Linked DNA regions of Homo sapiens: all the other regions are linked to region 2. Evidence: promoter capture Hi-C in human tissues and cell types (Jung and others, 2019). All regions are on one chromosome and are shown on one strand. Each heading gives the region's core, a stretch centred on a gene start or on the middle of the fragment in contact. The rest is flanking DNA. Distances are from core to core; before and after follow the strand shown. Region 1 holds the start of RNF141 (ring finger protein 141). Region 2 holds the start of WEE1 (WEE1 G2 checkpoint kinase). Region 3 overlaps SBF2 (SET binding factor 2).

Region 1 (4,322 bases), core at 334-2,833, 970 kb before region 2:
AAAATTTTCCATTTCTAATTGTTCATTGCTAGTATATAGAAATACAACTGATTTTTGTATATTTGATTTTGTATCTTGCAACTTTTGTAAACTCACTTATGAGTTCTAGCAGCTTTTTTGTAGTATTCCACAATTTTCTTATGCAAATAAATGCAGTGCTACAACTTCCTTTCCAACTTGGATGCCTTTTATATATTTGTCTTTTTTTATTTCATTGACCAGAACTTCCAATACAATGTTTAATTGAAGGCAATTTTTACAGAGTAATATTTCTAACTCCCAGGCCCGGATTAGGCTGAACTATGGAATCTTGTTGAATTTGATATCTTTTGGAATTTATTAAATCATTATTTATACTTCATTTTTAAGCTTTTTCCTTTTCCAGTGTTCAAATATTCATCAAATGTTCAAATATTGAACAAGTACCATGCTGGCTGTCAGGGAAATAATGGTGCACAAACAGGCATGGACCTAGCGCTAATGAAGTCTTACCGTACTACCGAGGCAGTTTAAAACAGGAATTAAAAACACAGGTTCAGGGTTCTGTCTGCTTGGGTTTGAATCTGGCTCTGCTCCTTAATGGTTGTTTGACCTTGGAAAAGTTAATCGACTTTTCTAAGCCTGTGTCTTAGTGAAGGTATTAATAATACCTACTCACAGGATTGCTGTGAAGATTAAACGAATTAATACCTTTAAAGTCCTTAAAATACGGTTTGACATATAGTAAATGGTCAAAGAGTATTATTATTAGAGGGAAGAATTAGCTCTTCACAAGGTGAATCTACAAGTGACTGGTGAAGGAGGGGTGTACAAACAAGAAACATAAAAACCAGTTTAACTGCTAAGCATAGAGGCAGCAGTGTCAGCTGTACCTGGGTTAAAATCCTTGCTCTGCTGTTTATTGTCTAGGCAACTTTGACCAGACGACTTAAACAAGAGCAATGCCCGTAAAGTGCCTAGTGCAGTATTTGGCACACAACAGATGCTTAAAAGACAGCAATTACTGATTCAGACGTCCCGCAGAGCAGTAATATCACTAACATGTGCTCATCATCATATCTATCATTTATCAAAGCTCAGGATTTTGAACCTTGTAATTACTTTTCATACATTCTCTTATGCTTAACAACTCGGCTAGGTGAACACAATCCATTGCCTCATAAAGAAACAAGATGACCTTTGTGTATCTATCATCAGTGGGGAGGCTGGAGGTCTGGGAAGTGGTACCTTGGAGCCCAACTGTTGACCAAACCAGGGCTCTCAGTGCGGCCTTGGTCGCCAGCGGGGCGCTCCACTTTCCGCTCCGGAGATGGCACCAGGAGAGATGGGAGTCTGCCAGGCTGTTTCCATGGCCACCTCATGAAGCCCCTGCTCCGGGAGCGTGACAGGCGAGACTCTCCTTCGCCGCCACCTCTCGTCTCAGATGACCATCTGGGCTCGAAAGCCCTCAGGAGCTGCGGAGCGCGGGTCGGTAGGGGCGCTGCAGAGGAAGGTTGGGCGCCGTCTCCCGGCAACGCGCGGGGGGCGGGGCTTTGCGTCACAGAGGTGCGACCGGGTCCCGGCCTGAGTCGCGGCCACCCGCAGGTCTGAGCTGTGGGCTGAGGCAGCGCAGCCGCTGCCGCAGGGTGCGCGATGCCTTGAACCTGGGGTGAGCTCCGCGGCGCTGTCCTTTCGTGTTTCCCTTGCTAGCTGCTCCAGGACTCTGGGTCTGGGAAGAGAAACCCCAGAGGGCCCTCCGCTGCCGAGCCAGGCTTCCGCGGGGAGACAGGCCTAGCCCCGCCGCCCTCCCCGGGCCTCGGATTGGGGCGTGGGGACGGCTGGGGAGGCCATTCTATTGACGCCCGTCTTCTGCCCGGCGGGTTCCAGTTGCCCGGGGTGGCGGTGGCTTGTCCCGCCTCGGGGTGGTTCTGAGGGACCCGGAGAGAGTTTTTCCTTCTCTATCCCAAAACGGTTGTTTGAATATTGCCGCCGGCTCAGTCATTCGGCCGCCGGACTTAGCTGTTGGTTAAATGTCCAGGTGCGCTTGAGGAGGGGCTGAGGCGGCGTAGCCAGAGCGAGCGCTAGGGTGGCCCGCGGGCTCGGTCTCCGCCGGGCTGGACACCCAAATAAGAAACCTTTTGCCTGGGACGATAGCTCAGAAATAGCCACGTCGATCTACTTAGCCAGCCCCACACTTATGAATTGGCTTAGGCTGCTACCCTTCCCAAAGGTCTTTCCTTGTCAAACTAGCTGCTACCTTGAGACCCGGCTAAGAAAAGAACGTTTTCTTGCTAATAATAAGAAGGTAGTGATTACACAGCAGGAGCAGAAGGCTTCTGTGTTAGCTTTTGAAATTATTCCTTCAGTTATTTGTCTCGGCGTTACAAAATGTGGATTTACGATTGTTATTGAAATCGATCCCTATGCCCCTTATTAAAGGTAGTGTACCTTTTATATTCTGACACTGTCCTATTTAGCGGTGCCAGCTAATTCAGTTCTTGCCTCTGGCATATATATAAAGCTGCTGGAACACTTTCAATTGTTTATAATTCTTACATCTTCAGCACGAATTTATTCGTTTTCACTCCCTTCTGCCCATTCTTCTTGCTATAAAATGACCTCTACCCATTCAGAATTTTGTCTGGGGGCATGAGCTGCCACCGGCCGACGATCCTAAATTAGTCACCTCCATGTCGAAGTCACCCGTCTGAGAAGTGATGCTTTCTGAATTCAGAGCTCAAAAATAGTATGGATTTTTATCCTTTTCTTTCACATTGCCTGACTTCAGTTTCTAGAACTTTTTCTCAAGAATATGACTATATGTTTCAAAAATTAATATTTGTCATTTGGTGTAAATGAACTTTATATTCGATGTGTGTAGCCTGATCCTTCTTGGTTCCCATCTAAATACAAACACGCTTTCCTTCCCAAAAAGGCAAGGGAGGTCCAGAGAGAATTCTTACAAGTCTAATATGCTTTTTCCAATATGAAATGCATTTAGTAAACACACTGTTACTGTGAGAAATCCATATTCTTAATCTCCTAGTACGGCACTCTATCCTTTTGTAGTTTCTCTCTCCTTCTCTCTCTAATATATATGTATGTATCTTTTTCTGATCAAGATCTTTGATTCTGGAACAGGCATTCTGGACTCTATAGTGACTCTGGCCTAATTATTTCACTATGTATCTATATTAACTTGTCTTGAAAAAAAAAAGTTGATATCTGTTTACAGATCTACAGTTTGAGTAAACAATGAGTAATAAAGTAAATAATATCCTTAGGGACCCAGTCAGTAGTACTTGGTATTTATTACTGATGTTAAAGTTGACTTGACAGTGAAAATCATTGATGTTTATTTCAATTAAATCCTTTTAGGTGAGGTTGATACAAAATTTGATGGAGAACTGGTTTCAGAGAGGTTTTTAAAATACTACAGTGCAGTACTTGTCATTTAGTCATTTTGGTGCATTTTCAGCCTTTTCCATTTTGCTTTAGTTATTTTATGAATGAATTATGGTTTAAATTTTTAGGAGTTTTTGAGCAGTTTTTTCGTTTTTGCTTTGCCAGTTACCCATGATGTAATTTTAATATTTTTATAAGGAATATTTGAACTTCCACAATTCATTTGTTAGAAAAATAAGTGATTCACTATGTACCACCCACTAGAGAATGTGGCATTTTTGGAATCCTTGATCTTGTGCATTTCAAAATAACAGTTCTTTATTTAGAAAATCCTTCAAATGCTTTTTGAAAGCATATTTTTATCTTGCAAAAAATGACTGTGTTATAGGTGGCACAATAATATGAGAGCTGCTAGTTCTTTGAGAAATCTTGACCAGAAATTCATCTTTTGTTGAATTCTGTGCCAGTGGTTTGCAAATTATGTTTCTATGCAATACCACTGTTGCATGGCCTAGGGGGGAGTATCTTGTTAAAATCAAATAGTAAATGTTTCCCAGTTTACATAAGCATTAATTTAATGACAGATTTTCACAGTTTTACATTTTCTTTCATACATATTTTTAACTTCTGCTTCTCTCCAACCTAGTACTAATAGATGACTGACCAAATTAACAAAAGTCAAAAGAATACTAAGTGAATAATAATAAAACAAAAACTGCCAATGGTATTTACTGCATTTATTCAGTAAACATCTATTGAGTGCTTGTGTATCTGCCAGAAGACAGACCATAGCTGCTGTCCTCAAGAAGCTCACTAGAGGGAAATGGCCAAGTGACTTAACGAATGTCATAGTATGATAGAAATATGTGCAGTCACCAAAGAGGGACACTGAAAAGCTGTGGTGGTTGACTAGAGGATGGCCTCAACAGATTGTTTTC
Region 2 (4,068 bases), core at 545-3,044:
CAAGTCGGCCAATAAACAGTACAGCTCGAAAGCACACAGATTGCCTAGGCTGATGACAAACAGTACATTGAAAACAAAACAAACTCACTTTAAAAGGTGCATCTTCCCTGTTAACCTTACAAATGCGAGGCTTGTCTTAATCTCTGGAAGTATCAGCTTTAAAATCTGCAGTTTTAAAAGTGGTCATCTGCGCAGTACTCGAAGGCCTTTCAAAACACAGGTGCTGAACACCTCCTTCTTTAAGATACCTTATCTACGGTAGGATGTTCCTAATCACACGGAGGCCGGCCAAACTCTGGGCACCGCAAACCCACGATAAAAACAAATGCTGGGCCAAGACCTTGTCCAGAAACAGGCCTCAGTACTGCCTGGACTTAGGATGAGTCTGTAGGACTGTAAATGCTTGGAAGGCCAGCCTTTACTCCCAAGTCCAAGCGTAGTCTCCCTGCATGCCCCAGACCTTTCCCCCATCCACGCCACACGACACGACACGATCAGGGCGGGACAATTATTTTTCTTTAAACTCCTTCTGCCCGCGCCGCCCAAATTACAGGCCCGATCGCCGCGTTTAAAAGGCATCCTATGGCTCGGGAGTGTCAGGTGGCCGGGCCGGCACCCTCCAGCATCCTCGCGAACCGCGTTATCGGTGCCGCACTCGGGGCTGACACGCTCGGGGCGGCCCGGACTCAACGGGCGGCAAATCCTTGGCCACCCGGACGGGCCGATCGGCCCCTTTGTAAGATGAAGTTCCAGACGAGGCCCATTGTTCAGTTACATAATCTCAACGGACAACCTCGGGGCAGGGCCAAACACAAGGGCTGCCAACTTTGGGGGGCGGCGCAGGAAAGCGAGGGGGGAGCGGCCGGCCGCTTCTGTAACCGAACCCAGGCAGCGGCGCTGGCCCCTCCGGCGCCGCGGCCCCGGCCGCCGGGTGCCCGCGCCCGCCGCTCTCACCTTGGGCGTGTGCGGGGTGTCGAAGAGTCGCAGCTTGCGGAAGGTCTTGTGTGGCGGGGTGCCCGGGTGGTCCGGCCGCGGCGAGCGGCGGCCTTCGCCCGCCCGGCGCGCCCCGCAACCCCGCGGCGACGCATCTCCTGGGCCGCCGCAGCGCACCGGCGAGAAAGAGCTACCCAGGAAGTAGGGGGCCGCCGGCGACTTGACCGGCGACGAGGAGCCGAAGCCCTCCTCCTCCCACGAGTCGCCCTCCGCCCCACCGCCCGCCTCGTCCGCGCCCGGGCAGGCGCCGGGCAGCAACAGGTCCTCCTCCAGCTCGCCGGGGCTGCCGGGGGCCGGCCCGGGCGAGCGGCGGCGCTCGGGCCCGGGCTCCGTGGGGCTCCGCGCGGGCGGCAGCGGCGAGTCGGGCTCTTGAAAGGCCGAGTCCTCCCCGGTGCTGTGGCCGCTGCCCTCCTCCTCCTCCTCTTCTTCCTCCTCCTCACAGTCGCTGCAGGGCGAGAAGATCAGCTTCTGCCGCAAGGTGCAGGCCGCCCCGGCGCGGCGGGGTGGCGGCGGCTGCTGTCGGCTCAGGAAGCTCATCGCGGCCCTGGGGACGGGGCCGAGGACAGGAGAGCGGAGGCCTGCGGGGTCCAGGACACTGCGGGCCTGGGGGCGGGTCCGCCACGTGCGGCTGGGCGCGCCTAGTCGCAGCCGCGGCGTCTCTGCGCGGCGGCGGCCTGCGGCTCCGGGGCGCTCGGGCTGCGGACGGTGGCGGCAGCGGCGGCGCGGACTTTCCGGCAGAGGCGGGGCGGCCCGAGCACCGAGGCTGAGGTCTCCTCAGGTCCAGTCTCAGGTTCGGGCTCCGCGGCTTCCCGCGACCGTTAACCACGTGAGTGCCCAGTCCACCAATCCCAGTGCAGCTCCGGGTTTGAAAAAAAAAGGAGGGCGCGACGTAGCCCGCGGGGGAAGGACCAGCTACGCGATTTTGGCGGGAACCCGCTGGCTCCACCCCCGGCTCGGCGCCAGCCAAGTCTGGGCGGGCTGTGGTGTTCCGGGCCTATGAGCGAGCCTGGGGCGGCGGGGGGCCCGGCCCGGCGCCGCCCGAACACCGCCCGGACGGGGCTGGGCCTTCTGGGAGGGGCAAAAGAGAGCTGGATTCGCCTAAGCCGACCCGAAAGCCGGCCTGGACGCACCCCCCTCGCTGCTCCTCCGGTGCTGGGGGATCTGAAGAGGGGCAGGCGGCCGGGCAGCGCCTCCGGGTCTCTGCGAGCTGGGAAGAGCCAGGGACCGAATGGCCTTCGGCCGCTGCCCTCGGAGGCCGCTTCTTGCCCCTCGTCCCCTGGGGCGAGCCACTGGGGCGTAGTGGGCGTGGCAGTGGGCAGCCACGTTCAGGGTCGAGGTCTGAGCCGGAAATGGTGACTCGGGCCTCGGGACCTTTCTGAACTGCGGGAGCCGATGTGCTTAGGCTGGACACTGGCTGGGAGGAGGCCTCCGAGCCCCATTATTTCCCCGGGGTGGGTGACTGTTAGGGGCGGGTGTCAGCACAGCGAGAAGAGCTCTCCCAAGCAGGGGTCCACCTCTGCCGACCTTGTCCGCGGCCAAAAGAAACAGCAGCACAGTTGCCCACCACGAAACCAAGTGCCCGGCACACGATCTCCGTGTTTACATTTGTTCGCCAGCACGTGGGCATGCGTTGGCAAAACCGATTGGCCCGGCTCGCGGCAAACTCAAACGCAATTTTAAAAAATTTCCCTAGTGCTTCGTTAAACTGATTTAATCTGTCCCTTAATGCACTTACACGTTTCTTCCAGTTTTCTTTTTTCTTTCTTTGTTTATTTATTTTTTTTTTTTTTTCTGAGACGGGGTCTTGCTCTGTCACCCAGGCTGGAGTGCAGTGGCACGATCTCGGCTCACTACAACCTGCAACCTCCGCCTTTAGAGTTCAAGCGATTCTCATGCCTCAGCCACCCGAGTAGCTGGGATTACAGGCGGCTGCCACCACACCTGGCTAATTTTTGTATTTTTAGTAGAGACGAACTTCCCAATGTTGGCCAGGCTGGTCTCCAACTCCTGATCTCAAGTGATCCGCCCGCCTCGGCCTCTCAAAGTGCTGGAATTACAGACGTGAACCACCGCTCCCGGCCTCTTCCAGTTTTCTGTTGTAAACAACCCCGTGGTGTATATGCTTCCTTCTCCATGTTTTTTGTTTGGTTTGGTTTTTTTCGACACGGAGTCTCGCTCTGTCGCCCCAGGCTGGAGTGCAGTGGCGCGATCTCGGCTCACTGCAGCCCCCACCTCCCGGGTTCTCGGGTTCCAGCGATTCTCCTGTCTCCCGGGTAGCTGGTATTACAAGCACATACCAGGCCTGGCCAATTTTTGTATTTTTACAAAATGCAAAATACGGAGTTTCACCATGTTGGCAGGCTGGTCTCAAACTCCTGACCTCAGGTGATCTGCCCGCCTCGGCCTCCCAAAGTGCTAGGATTACAGGCGTGAGCCACCGCGCCTGGCCTTTTTAAAATACTCTTTTGGATACCTCCCTGGAGTTAGAATTCCTCAGTCAAAGGATATAAACTGGCAAACTCCCCCTCCAGAAACACAATACATTCTCACTAGCAGTGGATTAGAGCACACTCTGTGAATTCAGGACATCAGTGGATGTTCGTTGATGTGGTTTTGTTGTTTTGATTCATATTGTTGAACAGTTGTCATGGGTTTAATGATAATTTACATTTATCTCTATTGCCTATTTTTCTTATTGTTAGCACTTTATGCATATTAACACTTTGTCATATATGTTGTTCTAATGCTTTTCAAAGGCTAAATAAACTCAAGCTGAATTTTTCTTGAAACACACGGTAGTACTTAACACATCAAATCGGGAATTTCCTGAGATCACACAACTGAAGACACAGTGAAGGATCAACAGCTGTCTTTTCTCCTAACATTTGCTAACTGGTGTATAAATGTGTTTTTTATATGGTCATGCAAACTTAATTTTAAGCTCTTGGAGGACAAGAATTCTAGACTTGTATAAGGAGAGTTAGTCAATGATCCACAGTGGCCAAAGCCAAGGAGTGATTTTCAGAACCCTTGCTCCAACACTTCCCCTCCTGCCACTCCTTTTTTTTAAATTTT
Region 3 (3,898 bases), core at 1,234-3,733, 710 kb before region 2:
ACGAGGGGGCATGGCTAGGGCTGCACACTCCACGGACCTGGCTGGAGCAGGCAGCAGCCCCGCCCTCCTGGGTGTGCTGCAGCCACCCAAGTCAGAGCTGTGGACCCAGTTCTCCCTGTGTTCTAAGGGGCCACGAGCAGGAGGCCCCCCCACCCCACACAGCTGCAGCTGCCCAAGCTGGGGCTGTGGACCAAGGCCTCTTTGCACTCTCAGGGGCCAGGGAAGGCATCCCTCCTGCCCTTGTAGGCTTGGAGGCGCCTGCTCCAATCTCGGAGCGGGGTTGGGGCCAAGCCAGGGTGCTGTCACAGCGCCCCCGGGTGTGTACACACTTAGGTCAGCGCTGACACACTGGGCCCCTGCCTCCTCAGCCCCCTCTGGACTTTGGGCCCTGACAAGCACCGTGGGAGGGGTTTGAGGGAGGTTTGGTGCTGGCCTGCAGGTACCCCTTGAAGCGAGAAGCCTGGGCGTCGTGGATGGCGGAAGGGGGCAGGTCTCTGGTGAGGCCCCACCTTCAGGCCGGGGAGGGCTTGAAGACTGGGGGCCCAGCTGCCAGTCCTATGGACTAGAGCGAGGACTTGTGGTACCTTTTCTGGGCCCACCTATGGACAATTGGTGTGCACTTTGTCCCCTCTGAGGCCCATAAAAGTTGCAGGCTCAGCCCAGAGCAGAGCAGAGGATGGAGAGATGATGGGACAACCAGTTACAGAGAGGAGTTACCCTCTCTGCTGATAGATGCAGAGATGATGGGACAACCTGCCTAAAGAGAGGAGCTTCCCACTGTAGGGCCTCCTCTCTGCTGAGAGCTGAAGAGATGATGGGACAATCTGCCTGCAGAGAGGAGCCACCCATTCTAGTCTAGGACCTCTCTGCTGAGAGCTGCAGACAGCAGGACAACCAGCTGCAGAGAGGAGCTGCCCTCTCTGCTGATAGCTGAACACCTGTTGGGATGACCAGCTGCAGAGAGGAGCCACTCTCACTGCTGAGAAAATACTTGCTGGGGTGACCTGCCTGCATAAAGGAGCTACCCTCTCTGCTAGGAGCTGAACACTCATCAGGATACCCTTGCTACAGAGAAGAGCTGTCCACTGTGGGTCTTTGAGCTGTTCTATTGCTCAGTAAAGTTCCTCTTTGTCTTGCTCACCCTCCATTTGTTGTCTGAGGACCTCATTCTTCCTGGTCACAGAACAAGAACTTGGGACCCTTGAATGGTGAGGGTAAAAGAGCTCTAACACAAGCAGAGCTGAAACATGCCCCTTGCTCACCATGTTGCAGGTGAAGGAAGGGAGATAAGAGCTGTGGCCCTTCTGGGAGCCCAGACCTGGGAGCTCCCCAAGCTAGGGCTGTGACTCCTTCTTTGGGGCCCTGTGGTTCCTGGCATCTTCAAGCTTCTGAGTGCCACTACATTCCCCGGTGCCGGCCGGGGAAGCTGTTTGTGGTGCAACTGGTCCAGCCACAGCCTCGCAGAGAGCTGGCACTTATGCCAGCACCTGGAGCTGCCCACCCTGTGGCAGCAGCTGACATGTCTGACTGGGCAATGGCCAGACTGTACGCTCGCTTACACACCCCTCACCACTCCACGCCTGACTCCAGTCTTTCTTGGAGGCATGGGATCCAGGCTGGTAGCGTGAGCTGAGTGTAGCCTACAAGGCCGAGTGGGTGGGAATGAGGCTAGCAGGTCTGAGCAAAACTCAGGCAGAGGTGCCACCAGCCACAGGTTTCTGGCCAGAAAAGTGACACCCTAAAGATCCCATAACAATATCTAATAAAGTATAAATTACATGCAATAAAATTTACTCTTTTAAGTGAACATTTCAGTGAGTTTTGACAAATACATACATTAGTGTAGCCACTACTGCAATCAAGATATAGATATAGGGCTGGCCGCTGTGGCTCATATCTATAATGGCAATGCTTTGGGAGGCTGAGGCTGGAGGATTGCTTTAGACCAGGAGTTTGAGACCAGCCTGTGCCACATGGTGAGCCCCATCTTTGAAAAAAAAAAATAGCCTGGCGTGGTGACACATGTCTGTAGTTCCAGCTACTTCGGATGCTAAGATGGGAGGACTGCTTGAACCTAGGAGTTCGAAGCTGCAGTGAGTCATGATCACTCTACTGTATTCCAGCCTGAGTGACAGATTGAGACTCTGTTTCTAAAAATAGGTAGATAGATAGATAGATAGGGAACATTTTCATGCTTCCAAAAAGTTCTCTCATGCCTCTTTGTAGTCAGTTCCCTTTCTAGCATCTGGCAGTCACTGATCTGTTTTCTGTCTGTATGTTTTTGTCTTTTCTAGAATGTCATATAAATAGTATACAGTTTTTTGTGTCTAACTTTTTTCACTTAGGATCATACAGTTGAGATTTATCTATGTTGAATTTATTGGCAGTTGTTCCTTTTTATTGCTTAGTATGATACGATTTATCCATTCACCAGTTGAAGGACACTTGAATTTCTAGTTTTGGGCTATGGTGAACATAATTGTTCTGAACATTTGCATACAGATCTTTGAATGTTTTCATGTTCATGTTTTTATTTCTCTTGGGTAAATACGTAGGAGAAGAATTGCTAGGTCATAAGTGTCTTATTTGTGTGAGACTGACAAACTTTTCTAATTGGCTGTGCCATTTTACATTTTCACTAGCAATGTATGAGAGTTTCAGTTATTCTTTTTAAATTTAATTTATTACTTAAAAATATTTTTGGTTGCTCTGCCTGTGGAGTAGCCATTTTTTGTTAACTTCTCTAATAAACTTGCCTTCACTAAAAAGACAAAAAAACAAAAAACAAAAACAGGCTGGGTGCCGTGGCTCACACTTATAATCTCACCACTTTGGGAGGCCAAGGTGGGTGGATCACGAGGTCAGGAGAACGAGACCATCCTGGCCAACATGGTGAAACCCCGTCTCTCCTAAAAATACAAAAATTAGCTGAGTGTGGTGGCGTGCACCTGTAATCCCAGCTACGTGGGAGGCTGAGGCAGGAGAATGGCTTGAACTCAGGAGGCAGAGATTGCAGTGAGCCGAGATCGCAGTGAGCCGAGATCGCACAACTGCACTACAGCCTGGCGACAGAGCAAGACTGTCTCAAAAAAAAAAAAACCAAAGAACAAAAACTTCCTCTAGCTTTATTGAGATATAATTTACAAATAAAAATCATATATATTTATGGTGGACAGCGTGATGTTTTATGTATACATTGTGAAATGATTACCACAGTCAAGGTAATTAACATATCCATCACTTCACATAGTTACCGTGTGTGTGTGTGTGTGTGTGTGTGTGTGCGTGTGCGTGTTTATGTGAAGAAATTTAAAATCTCTTTTGGCTGGGCGTGGTAGCTCACGCCTGTAATCCCATCACTATGGGAGGCTGAGGTGGGTGGATTGCTTGAGTCCAGGAGTTTGAGACCAGCCTGGGCAACAGGCTTTTTTCTCCAAAAAAAAGATCTACTCTCTTAACATACCTCATTTGTGGTTTTAATTTGCGTTTTCCTGGTGACTAATAATGCTGAACACCTTTTCGGGTGCTTGTTGCCATTTGTGTATTTTTTTGTAAAGTGTCTGATCAAATTTGTGCTCTTTTTTATTGGGTTGTTTGACTTCTTACTGTTATTGGTGGAGGGTGTCCAGGTTCTTGGTGTTTTGAAGAAAGAATTGGACAAAATGCACAAACAAAGCAATGACAGAAAATTACAGATTTATTGAAATGAAAGTACACTCCACAGGGTGGGAATGGGCTTGAGCAAGCAGCTTGAGAGTGCTGGTTACAGAATTTTCTGGGGTTTAAATACCCTCTAGAGGATTCCCATTGGTTATGCAGTGTATGCCTTATGTAAATGAAGAGGATGAAGTGAAGTTACAAAGTTATTTACTTGGTGTACACCCTATGCAAATAAAGA

Evidence for each region. The method cuts DNA at HindIII sites, captures the fragments that hold promoters and counts their contacts. A contact is called where the count stands out against the background at its distance.
Region 1: the fragment with the promoter of RNF141 here is called in contact with the fragment with the promoter of WEE1 in region 2 in 1 of the 25 tissues and cell types used here (IMR-90 fibroblasts).
Region 3: a contact is called between a fragment that was not itself captured here and the fragment with the promoter of WEE1 in region 2, in 1 of the 25 tissues and cell types used here (stomach).

What each region holds. Positions count from the first base shown.
Region 1 is chr11:10,538,448-10,542,769 of GRCh38, reverse strand. It overlaps RNF141 (ring finger protein 141), which reads left to right and starts at 1,583. Exons shown (of 6, transcript NM_016422.4): 1 at 1,583-1,648. IRAG1-AS1 (IRAG1 antisense RNA 1) reads right to left here and starts at 1,534. Exons shown (of 4, transcript NR_046375.1): 1 at 1,228-1,534. RefSeq lists an enhancer at 1,398-1,507. The HindIII fragment of the contact is 8,088 bases long and covers 1-4,322 here.
Region 2 is chr11:9,571,396-9,575,463 of GRCh38, reverse strand. It overlaps WEE1 (WEE1 G2 checkpoint kinase), which reads right to left and starts at 1,794. Exons shown (of 11, transcript NM_003390.4): 1 at 955-1,794. The coding sequence starts at 1,530. RefSeq lists silencers at 1,172-1,271, 1,562-1,771, 1,792-2,141 and an enhancer at 1,716-2,568. The HindIII fragment of the contact is 20,198 bases long and covers 1-4,068 here.
Region 3 is chr11:10,285,553-10,289,450 of GRCh38, reverse strand. The region is part of intron 1 of SBF2 (SET binding factor 2); the gene reads left to right. Among named protein-coding and RNA genes, the nearest start is that of SBF2, 6.7 kb to the left of the region's middle. The HindIII fragment of the contact is 4,243 bases long and covers 362-3,898 here.